Linked DNA regions of Homo sapiens: region 1 is linked to region 2. The links are contacts of gene promoters, found by promoter capture Hi-C in blood cells and fetal thymus (Javierre and others, 2016). All regions are on one chromosome and are shown on one strand. Each heading gives the region's core, a stretch centred on a gene start or on the middle of the fragment in contact. The rest is flanking DNA. Distances are from core to core; before and after follow the strand shown. Region 1 overlaps TGFBRAP1 (transforming growth factor beta receptor associated protein 1). Region 2 holds the start of MRPS9-AS1 (MRPS9 antisense RNA 1).

The links. The method cuts DNA at HindIII sites, captures the fragments that hold promoters and counts their contacts. A CHiCAGO score of 5 or more calls a contact.
Region 1: a fragment that was not itself captured here is called in contact with the fragment with the promoter of MRPS9-AS1 in region 2 in 2 of 17 cell types (naive B cells and total B cells); the score reaches 5.4 in naive B cells.

Annotation. Positions count from the first base shown.
Region 1 is chr2:105,263,143-105,267,850 of GRCh38, reverse strand. It overlaps TGFBRAP1 (transforming growth factor beta receptor associated protein 1), which reads left to right. Exons shown (of 12, transcript NM_004257.6): 12 at 292-3,437. The coding sequence ends at 468. Among named protein-coding and RNA genes, the nearest start is that of GPR45, 24 kb to the right of the region's middle. The HindIII fragment of the contact is 1,843 bases long and covers 475-2,317 here.
Region 2 is chr2:105,100,834-105,105,174 of GRCh38, reverse strand. It overlaps MRPS9-AS1 (MRPS9 antisense RNA 1), which reads left to right and starts at 2,231. Exons shown (of 4, transcript NR_110227.1): 1 at 2,231-2,339. LOC105373527 (a long non-coding RNA gene) reads right to left here and starts at 3,418. Exons shown (of 3, transcript XR_923138.3): 1 at 412-3,418; 2 at 1-134. RefSeq lists enhancers at 1-813, 814-1,675. The HindIII fragment of the contact is 13,539 bases long and covers 1-4,169 here.

The sequences.
Region 1 (4,708 bases), core at 147-2,646, 160 kb before region 2:
GCCAGAGAATGTTGGAGAGAGGATCTTAAGTAGAAATGCCTCAGCCAGACAAGCAACAATTACTTTTGTGAAATAAGAAAAGCAATTGTGTAACTTTCTTCCTTGTCCAGTTACTAAGGATGGTTTTATTTACACCTTTAGCATTTCATTTCAAGAAGTTGATATTAAAGAAATCCTCATCATAATAATAACCCATGGAGTAATGCATGTCAACTCTGCAAAACTAGAACGTAGCCACTTTAAATATACTTAACACATGACAGCATTCTCAGTCTTGGTTTCTTCTTGCAGATGAAGTTGAAAGGAAGCTCAATCCAACTCTCAGACAAAAAGCTTTGTCAGATATGCCAAAATCCCTTTTGTGAGCCTGTGTTTGTTAGATACCCAAATGGTGGTCTTGTGCACACCCACTGTGCCGCCAGCAGACACACAAACCCCAGCTCATCCAGTCCTGGCACTCGGACTTGAAAAGCTTGGCCCAAGGGTGCGAGGGGAACTCCGAGTTCTTTCTGAGCCTGCTGGACATGAAGAGCAGATGACCACCATGCTCTGTGTCAGCCAGGACGAAGGGAGACATCTGGGTGCCAGGGAGCCTTCCGTCCATACGCAACAAGGACTCCTCGCTGCTGACCAGGCTCTATGAATGTACATGGAATGACCAGGCTCTATGAATGTACATGGAAAACCCCTAAAAATCCCCAAAACAGAAACATACAAGAGTTCACCTGTCCAGGTACATAGTAATCCAAGACAGAGGTCTACTTTGAAAAAAAAAAAAAGGGAGTCTTCCTCATGCAGTCCAGACCCAGGTGGGGGATCCCCCACCACCCCCACACTCCAACCTTTAGACTCATGTTTGCACTGGAAACGTGGCTTCACCATGGCTGGCGACAAAGTCCTCTCTTGCCTGGGTGAGTGGCGAGGGCACAGAGCCTCATGGGGGTCAGCCTTGCCCTCCTGCAGAAACACGTTCTCCATCCACGCCGCTCACTCATGGGCCCATTTCCCAGGGTTACCTCGTGGGCTCTGCCTTTGCCCTCAGAAACGGCTGACCCTGGAGAAGTACCTTTGTTCCTTCTTTCTTCCTCTCCGGCTCTCAGCTCCCAAAAGATTCTGCCTTGTGTACCCAAGCACTCACTCTTGGGTGAACTAATGCTTCTGGCTGCCTAGCAAGTGAAGATCTGTTGAGAAACTGAGAACGCTCCAAGAGAGAAGCTGCTCTCCCCTCCTTGAAGAAGCCGCGGACACGGGAAACCCACGGCGGGCAAGGGCCCAGCTGTGTGCTCCTTTCCTGTCATGGCATCTGCTGATTTGAAACTCCATGACGAACACGTTGAACTAAACATTTTTATTTAAATTTGTATCATGTTCGTAGTTGCTCTCTTGTTGAGAGAGTCATCTGTCCTGTTTGTTAGGGGTATTTTTTCTTGTTAAAATGTATCTCCTGTTGAATACTCGGGAAATTCAAAGGGAAGTGTGGTCAGCACACACTGAGCGTTCTTTTCTGGAGAGGCCGGTTTTAGCCTCGTACCTTTAGCAGGACCGACAGCGGGTGGAAGGGCCCGTGTGCTGGATGGGGGTGTCGCCTCCTGGATGGCACACCCTCCCGAGGACATCCAGACAGGCTGTGTCACCCTCCAGCACTTTATGTGCCTGCTCTGAGGTGTCCTGAACACACAGCAACGGCCTCTCCTTCATCACAGGCCGGGGATTCCTTTTGTGTTTCTGTATAACATCGATGACGAGCTGAAGCTGTTGTCACTTCACTGCCCTCTTTGGAATTTCTTCATTGTGCTGACTGATTCTATTAGGGGCTAACAATAAAGGCAGTCTACCCACTACTATCATGCTTGGGAAACAAGCGTCAGCTTGTACATATGACAAGAGAGGACCCTGAATACACCCTCTCTTCATCAGCCCAAGCCTTACTGAGGTGGGATGAAGACCTCATTCTCTGTTCTTTAAAACATGTTTCGTGAACTAATATTGGTCCATGTATTTTTTGTCCTTTTGGGACTCTAAGTGGGTCAAGAAGCAAAAACATCCATGTGTTGTTTGGGGGGAATTGGCACCATTTTTTCCTGACTATGTTTCAATTAACTAAAGAATAAATGATGAAGAAATTCTCCTTGTAGCACAACTGTATGCTGTGTAAATTGGTGTGAGCTCAAAGCCCAGTCATGTGTTTTACCTGTGGGTGACTCTGTTGTAGAATGGTCATATTACTGCATATGTTATCATGACAACTTGTGAGTTTGAGTTTATATTTCTCAAAGAACAAGTTACCCGTATATGCAACATTGCGCCATTAAAAGCTTATTTCTCTGTACACAAAATGGGTAAAATCTTGAAAAAACTTAGTAATTTCTCATTCCTAACACACAGACAGAGTCTCACTCTGTCACCCAGGCTGGAGTGCAGTGGCGCAATCTCGGCTCACTGCAACCTCCACCTCCTGGGTTCAAGCGATTCTGCTGCCTCAGCCTCCCGAGTAGCTGGGACTACAGGTGCATGCCACCACGCCCAGCTAATTTTTGTATTTTTAGTAGAGACGGGGTTTCACCATGTTGGCCAGGATGGTCTCGGTCTCCTGACCTCGTGATCTGCCTGCCTCGGCCTCCCAAAGTGCTGGGATTACAGGCGTGAGCCACTGCGCCCAGCCAACACTAGTCATTTTTATTTTTTCACTGAACATTGATCAATACTCTAAAATGTTTGTCATCCTTTAGAATAATGGGAATTAAAGTTGAGCAGTTTTCCATCTCTACCAAATCCTTCACCACAAGCAGCATTCTATTACAGTATGAAGAATTGTCTCATATGTTAAAACTGTACTTTTCTCTAACCTTTCTCTCACTCCTACAAGGCCCTTTTCTCAAATCATATTTCTGAGAGAAATGTATGGTTCTTTCTCACAGGCCTGCTGATTTGTAACTGTGCCATCGAATAGAGCAATTAGATCCATCAGACCTTTTTCCCCTCATTAGGTTCAGTGGAACCATTCTGGTTAAAACAGCATGAACTGAACTCAGTTTACATTCATATTCTATGGGCAATACCATTTGGTTTTTGGAACTGTTTATCTGCTGTTCCCTATCAAGTATTAATGTAGGGATGTCACTCAGGCTGCGTTGCACTGGGCTGAGTTCAACTGCGACGCTCTCACTGACGCGTGCTTACATGTGCTTCTCACTTCCGGAGCACAGGCAGGTGGCTGCGGGGTCCCAGCTCTGAATGGATGCCCATGATGCAACTGGGGCAGCCCTTGCTTTTTGCTTGCTCTCCCACAGAAACCTTTGTCCTTGCAACTTTATCCTTTGTCCCGATTGGGTCCCAGATACACAAAATGTACAAATGTAAACTTGCTCATTTTATTAAAATTCTTTTAGTTCTTTGTTCTTTCTGTAATTTTTTAAAATAAAAATTGCCTTGATGGAGTGATGGTTTTCACTCGCACCATACCTAGTCTAAATAAAGAGTTCTAGAATCTGTACCTTCTTGCTTTTCCTAGCACCTACAGAGGACTTGAGTTGCCAACCCCTTAAATTCTGCTATTGTTTTACCAAATTTTAACGTGTCTGCTTCTGAATTTACCCAATGCATATTTTAGGGTGCTCCTTGACATTGGTTGCCATCAGATTAATCATGCACTGAGGAATTCAACCAGGGAGACTTCTGATTACTTCTTATCTACTTTACCTTTTAGCCAGATACTCTTAAATAAGGCTGCACTCTTGGATTTCTAACCCTGAGCATATTCAAAGAACATAACTCTTACAAAATCGTACCTTTTAAATTTTGCTTCATCCCCTACACTGTTGTTGATGGCAGGTCTTTCAGCTATCCTGTTGAATTTCAGAGCACTTTCTCATGTTCTTTAATTCCAGGTGCTATTCCCACCCTGAAGAAAGGGGTATGTTCACACACATGATAATCCTCTGAGTTGTTTTGTTTTGTTTTTTATGAGATGGAATTTCGCTCTTGTTGCCTATGCTGGAGTGCAATGGTGTGATCTCGGCTCACTGCAACCTCCACCTCCCGGGTCCAAGTGATTCTCCTGCCTCAGCCTCCCGAGTAGCTGGGATTACAGGTGCCCGTCCACCACACCCAGCTAATTTAAAAAATATATATTTTTAATAGAGACAGAGTTTCACCATGTTGGCCAGGCTGGTCTTGAACTCCTGACCTCAGGTGATCCACCTGCCTTGGCCTCCTAAAATGCTGGGATTACAGGCGTGAGTCACCATGCTTGGCCCCCCGAGTATTCTGACCCTATTTCATTTCAGTGGATTGGGGTGAATCCCAAATACGTGTGAATAGAGGCAAGGTGTCATGAACTCACGCATACTTGAATTTGAAGAAGCTGAGGTGCAGTGTGTCAAGCGTGTTTTCTTGGAGTTGGAGGAGGTGCCAAGCTAGATCTGTGGCTCCCACCTGCAGGTCCTCCCACCTGGGGCTTCACCAACCATGAGGAGATAACCAGAACACAGCCCAGGGTGGACTCGCATTGGCTTTTAGATTCCAACCATCGCATTGCGGTTTTTAGAAAATCATAAAGCAGCAGGTGCAATATTCTTTTCTCATTTTTACCTCATTGGTATCTGAAGGCCCATTAGCATATTAGAGAATAAGTAAGAGGGGGCCTTTAGACTTATAAACCTGACTGGAAAGGAAGACATGTAGATTCACACTAACTGCATTGTGAGAA
Region 2 (4,341 bases), core at 982-3,481:
AGGTGTTGCTATTCTCTCTCCTTCACAAATGAGCAGTAGAGGTTTAAGGTGATCAACTCGTCCAAAGTCACACAGGAACTCCAGAGCCCGTGTTCTGGACCATGTACATACTTCTTCAGGTGGTTTTTCATCTACTTTTACGATACAGTAGTGCATAATAAGCATGTGAGTCGTATTTGGAAGGTATAATAAAGTGGACACTAAGGCAACCACCTCCCAGCTTCAGATAAACATCACCACCAATACCTCTGCAGTCTTGGGGGCCCGCCTTCCCCTCCCACCTGGTACAGGCCTTATCTCCGGAGCCTCCTACCAACACCTGCTGCACTTCCCCCACTGGATTCTGTGCTGCACACAAAGGCTAGGCTCATTTTCCTTAAAAAAACAAAAAACAAAAACCAAACTCCTTACGCCATGGGGATGGCCCCCTTAGGGCATGTTCTGAACAAGGGACCTATGCCCAGAAACAACGCACACATCTGTGACACTCTGCAAATGATTTCAATGTTTGGCAGACTTCCTCAAACTCATGATTTGTCATTCAAACTGGGACACTTGAGAGTAAAAGGGGGAACTATCTAGTAGTCACACTGGGATGGCGGGATGGTGGGGCCACACTGGGCAAACAGGTGGCACAGTCACCTTGACTTCATCCCTGGGCTCTCATAGCTCTTCCCATCACATTGCCCGGAATGCTTTCCTCCAATCGTATGGCCCACTGACTGTCCTCATAATGATCCCAGCTTGATGGAGTGGTTATGACATCGCCTTCCTGAATAAGATGAGGGTTCTAGCTTGGTTGGAGAGCATAGTATAGTGCTTACTAATCAACACCCATCCATTAGGATCTGGCTGACATCCACCTCTCCCATCAAGTCTTCTGACTGTACCAATGCAGTCTTCTCTCCTTTCACAGACGGTTTTAGCACAGGCTGTGTGCCTGGCTTGCATGCCGTCATAGCCCGCCTGGTATTCTTCCACAGTGGTTCAGAGCACTGGCTCTGGAGCCGGGATTCTAGGTTCCAACCTGGCTTGGGCACTCACTAGCTCTAGGACTTTGGGCAAGTTATTGAACCTCTCTGAGCACTAATTTTCTCAATATCTACCTCATAGGGTTGGCTGAGAGGATCGAATGCGTTACTTGTATTTAGAACAGTATCTGGAACAGAATAGGAGCTACAGAAGCATTAGCTCTCACTGTCGCCTTAAGGCAATAATCTTGTCAAATGCCTATTAAAAAAAAATAGCCACTAGAGAGCTCTTCCCAATGTATGCACACAGTGTGTGTCAAAAATACTTCCCAACAGGTATTTCCCACAAAGGTGTGGGATGTCTGAGAAGCTCAGTGCTCCTGTGGTTAACAAACCTGGTGACAAAGGAGACTGTGTCAAGCCTGAACAAAGGAACAAGAGCTCCGATATACTTTAATCCTCTTCCCTGGAGGCCTCACATCAACACTGTCCACAGTCTAGTTCCTATTACAGCTGGAATGGAGCAGATGGCCGGTGGTTTTACACTTATCTTACTTGATCGTCACACAAGGGCAGATGGGGCTGGTAGGGCAGAAAATGACCCCAATTTGACTCAAAGAAATTGAGACTCAAGGGGTACAGTGGCCTGCGAGGTTACAAGCCAGTATTTCTTCCAGACCTCACGGGGAAAGGCACCTGTAACATTCGCCTCTCCTGGAGGCCGCTTCTTGGTCATCACTGACGTCCCTGACCGCTGTGCCTGGCTTGCTGTCTTCCTATCACCGCTCACCACCCCCTTTGCTGGCTCTTCCCTCCTTCCTACTTTAAACTTGATGGCTGTTTCTCCACTTGAGCCTTGGCCTTCTCCCTGCCCAATCCTCCGTGCTGATCCAGCCCACGTTTCAAATTCCCCTTCCACGCAGCAGCCTCCCAAATCTGTCAGCAGGCTGACCCGTCGCCTGAGTCACAGTCCAATTATTTCAAGCATCTCATATGAGGTGGCCCCGAACACCTGAAACCCGAGCCGACCCCTCTGGTGTCTCCTCCTCCTCCCATCAACTTTTCTTCCTGTCTTCCTGGCTCTTTGCATTCCCAGCAGCCTGTGGATCTCATACCGAATACCCGCCCCCAGCTCTCCTGCAGCCAATCAGCTATCGCACTTGGTCCAGGTGAGAGTGGCAACGTTTCTCACACCTACTTCCTTTCTGTTCCCTGCACTGGGTCCCATCCCCTCCATGTACAATAGCTGCCTGGCAGGTCTCTTCCTTCTAGCAACTCCCTGCTCCTGCAGTCCCTCCGTGACCTTCCTGATGGGGAGATCCTCAAGACTTTTCCCATGAGCTCGGGGTTCCTGAGGCCCAGAAGAAGGTGAGAGTTAAGGCTCCGATTTTGTTGTTATATTATGCACTATGACTCTACTTAATATATATATACATATATTTTAAAGGTTGCTAAAATATAGTTTAAAAACACAGTTCTAATTTCAACCCTCATCTGTTCTCTCAAAGGAGAAAAAAAGGCTGATTCCCCTTTGGCAGTGCAGGAACATCACCATGAATTTCAGACCCTCCACAAATCCACCTCAGCCTCCTTCCCAGCTGGTTTCCGCAGGGACCTCGTCCCTCCCCAGCAATGCCCTGGCCCGCCTGGCTTCACTCCCTGCACATTTCCTGAACTTTCCTTCCTCCTTTCTCGCCATTTTCTCCATCTGTACTCCCACCCTCTCCTTTCATGGCCTCTTTTTTCCCCACCACCTCCTCCTCAGAGTGCTACTGTCCTCAGGGCCCCCTTCCTCAGCTCTCCTCCTGGCACTGTACGAGCAGCACTCCAGGTCTCCCGTTAGACTTGAGGACTTTGTCTCCTCCACGATACCAACAGTAGCTGATGCAGGGCCAGATGGCATATACTTCAGGCAGCTCTGCACTGCCCCAGGACACCAGGTATGGCAAGAGCTCAGCAAGCGGGCGATCCGTGCCGGCAGGGCTGCCCGCCATCCCATCTCAGCACACCCACGCCACGTGGGGTAACCACTTGTCACTTCTCTCTTGTCAAAATGGTAAAAAGTATACTCCAACAGATACAGGCTAAATCAACACCACCGACCAAAACCTGCCACAGACAATTTCACTAGAGAATGACCGCCACACAGAAAAAACCCCAGAAAGTATTTTCTACAGTTTCATCTGAAATGAAAAGGGCACTGGGTACCGCAGGGTACTGGGTACTCACTCTCACTTGTTCATCACCATGTTATTTTATTTTACCTCATAAAGGATTTGATGTGTATATACATGTCTCAGAACTTATTCAAGATTATTTTAAAAAGACACTTATGAAGAAATCAGTGGCATACAACTCTTTATATAAAGGATAATTGAGCATTGAGGGTCTAATTCTTGAAGCAATATTTTTACTTAAAATAACTGCATTGAAATGGATTTTTTTTTTTTTTTTTTGAGACAGGATCTGACTGTTACCCAGGCTGGAGTGCAGTGGCACAATCTCGACTTACTGCAGCCTCTGCCTCCTGGGTTCCAGCGATTCTCCCACCTCAGCCTCCCGAGTAGCTGGCACTATTGGCGCATGCCACCACACCCGGCTAATTTTTGTATTTTTTGGTAGAGATGGGGTTTCACCATGTTGGCCAGGCTGGTCTCAAACTCCTGGCCTCAAGTGATCCACCTGCCTCAGCCTCCCAAAGTGCTGGGATTACAGGCGTGAGCCACCACACCTGGCTTAAAATGGGTTTTAAAGTACCCCTGTTACCAACTGCCCCTTTCCTCCCTCAAAAACCTACTGCACAATTGCATTAGAGTTAAAATGCCAAAGTTTCTTCATTTTAAGGTACTTTAGAAATCCTAGAGCAAAACTCAATTGAACGCTTAGCTATGACTGAAGAGTCTCACTCCTGGCCAAACACCTATGTGTGATCTTTCATGCCAAACCATGGTCAATCATAAAGACTGCCTGGTGGGCCTCACGGGGGCAAGCTACACTCCCCACACCTGACTTGTGCACAGCCAGTGCATGACAGGTCCTGGGGGCCACAGTCAAGGACTCAGCCCACCTCCCCGCAGCCCGTGCTCTTCCAGAGCTATGTGCACTCCTGGCTGGGTGCCTTCATTCAGAGGGATCTGTTCCTTTCATGCAAGTCCTCCCTCAGGCTCCTCAGCTGAGACTTCCTGGGGAAGGGAAGCTTGAAGCCACTTTTCTCCATATCTGTGCTGATCCAAAATGGAATCCACAATTGTTTCAATAAAGAAACTGTGGCATATATAAACACAATGGAATATTATTCAACCTTGAAAAAGGAGATCCTGCCATTTGCCACAACGTGGATGAACCTAGAGGATACTATGAAGTAAGCCAG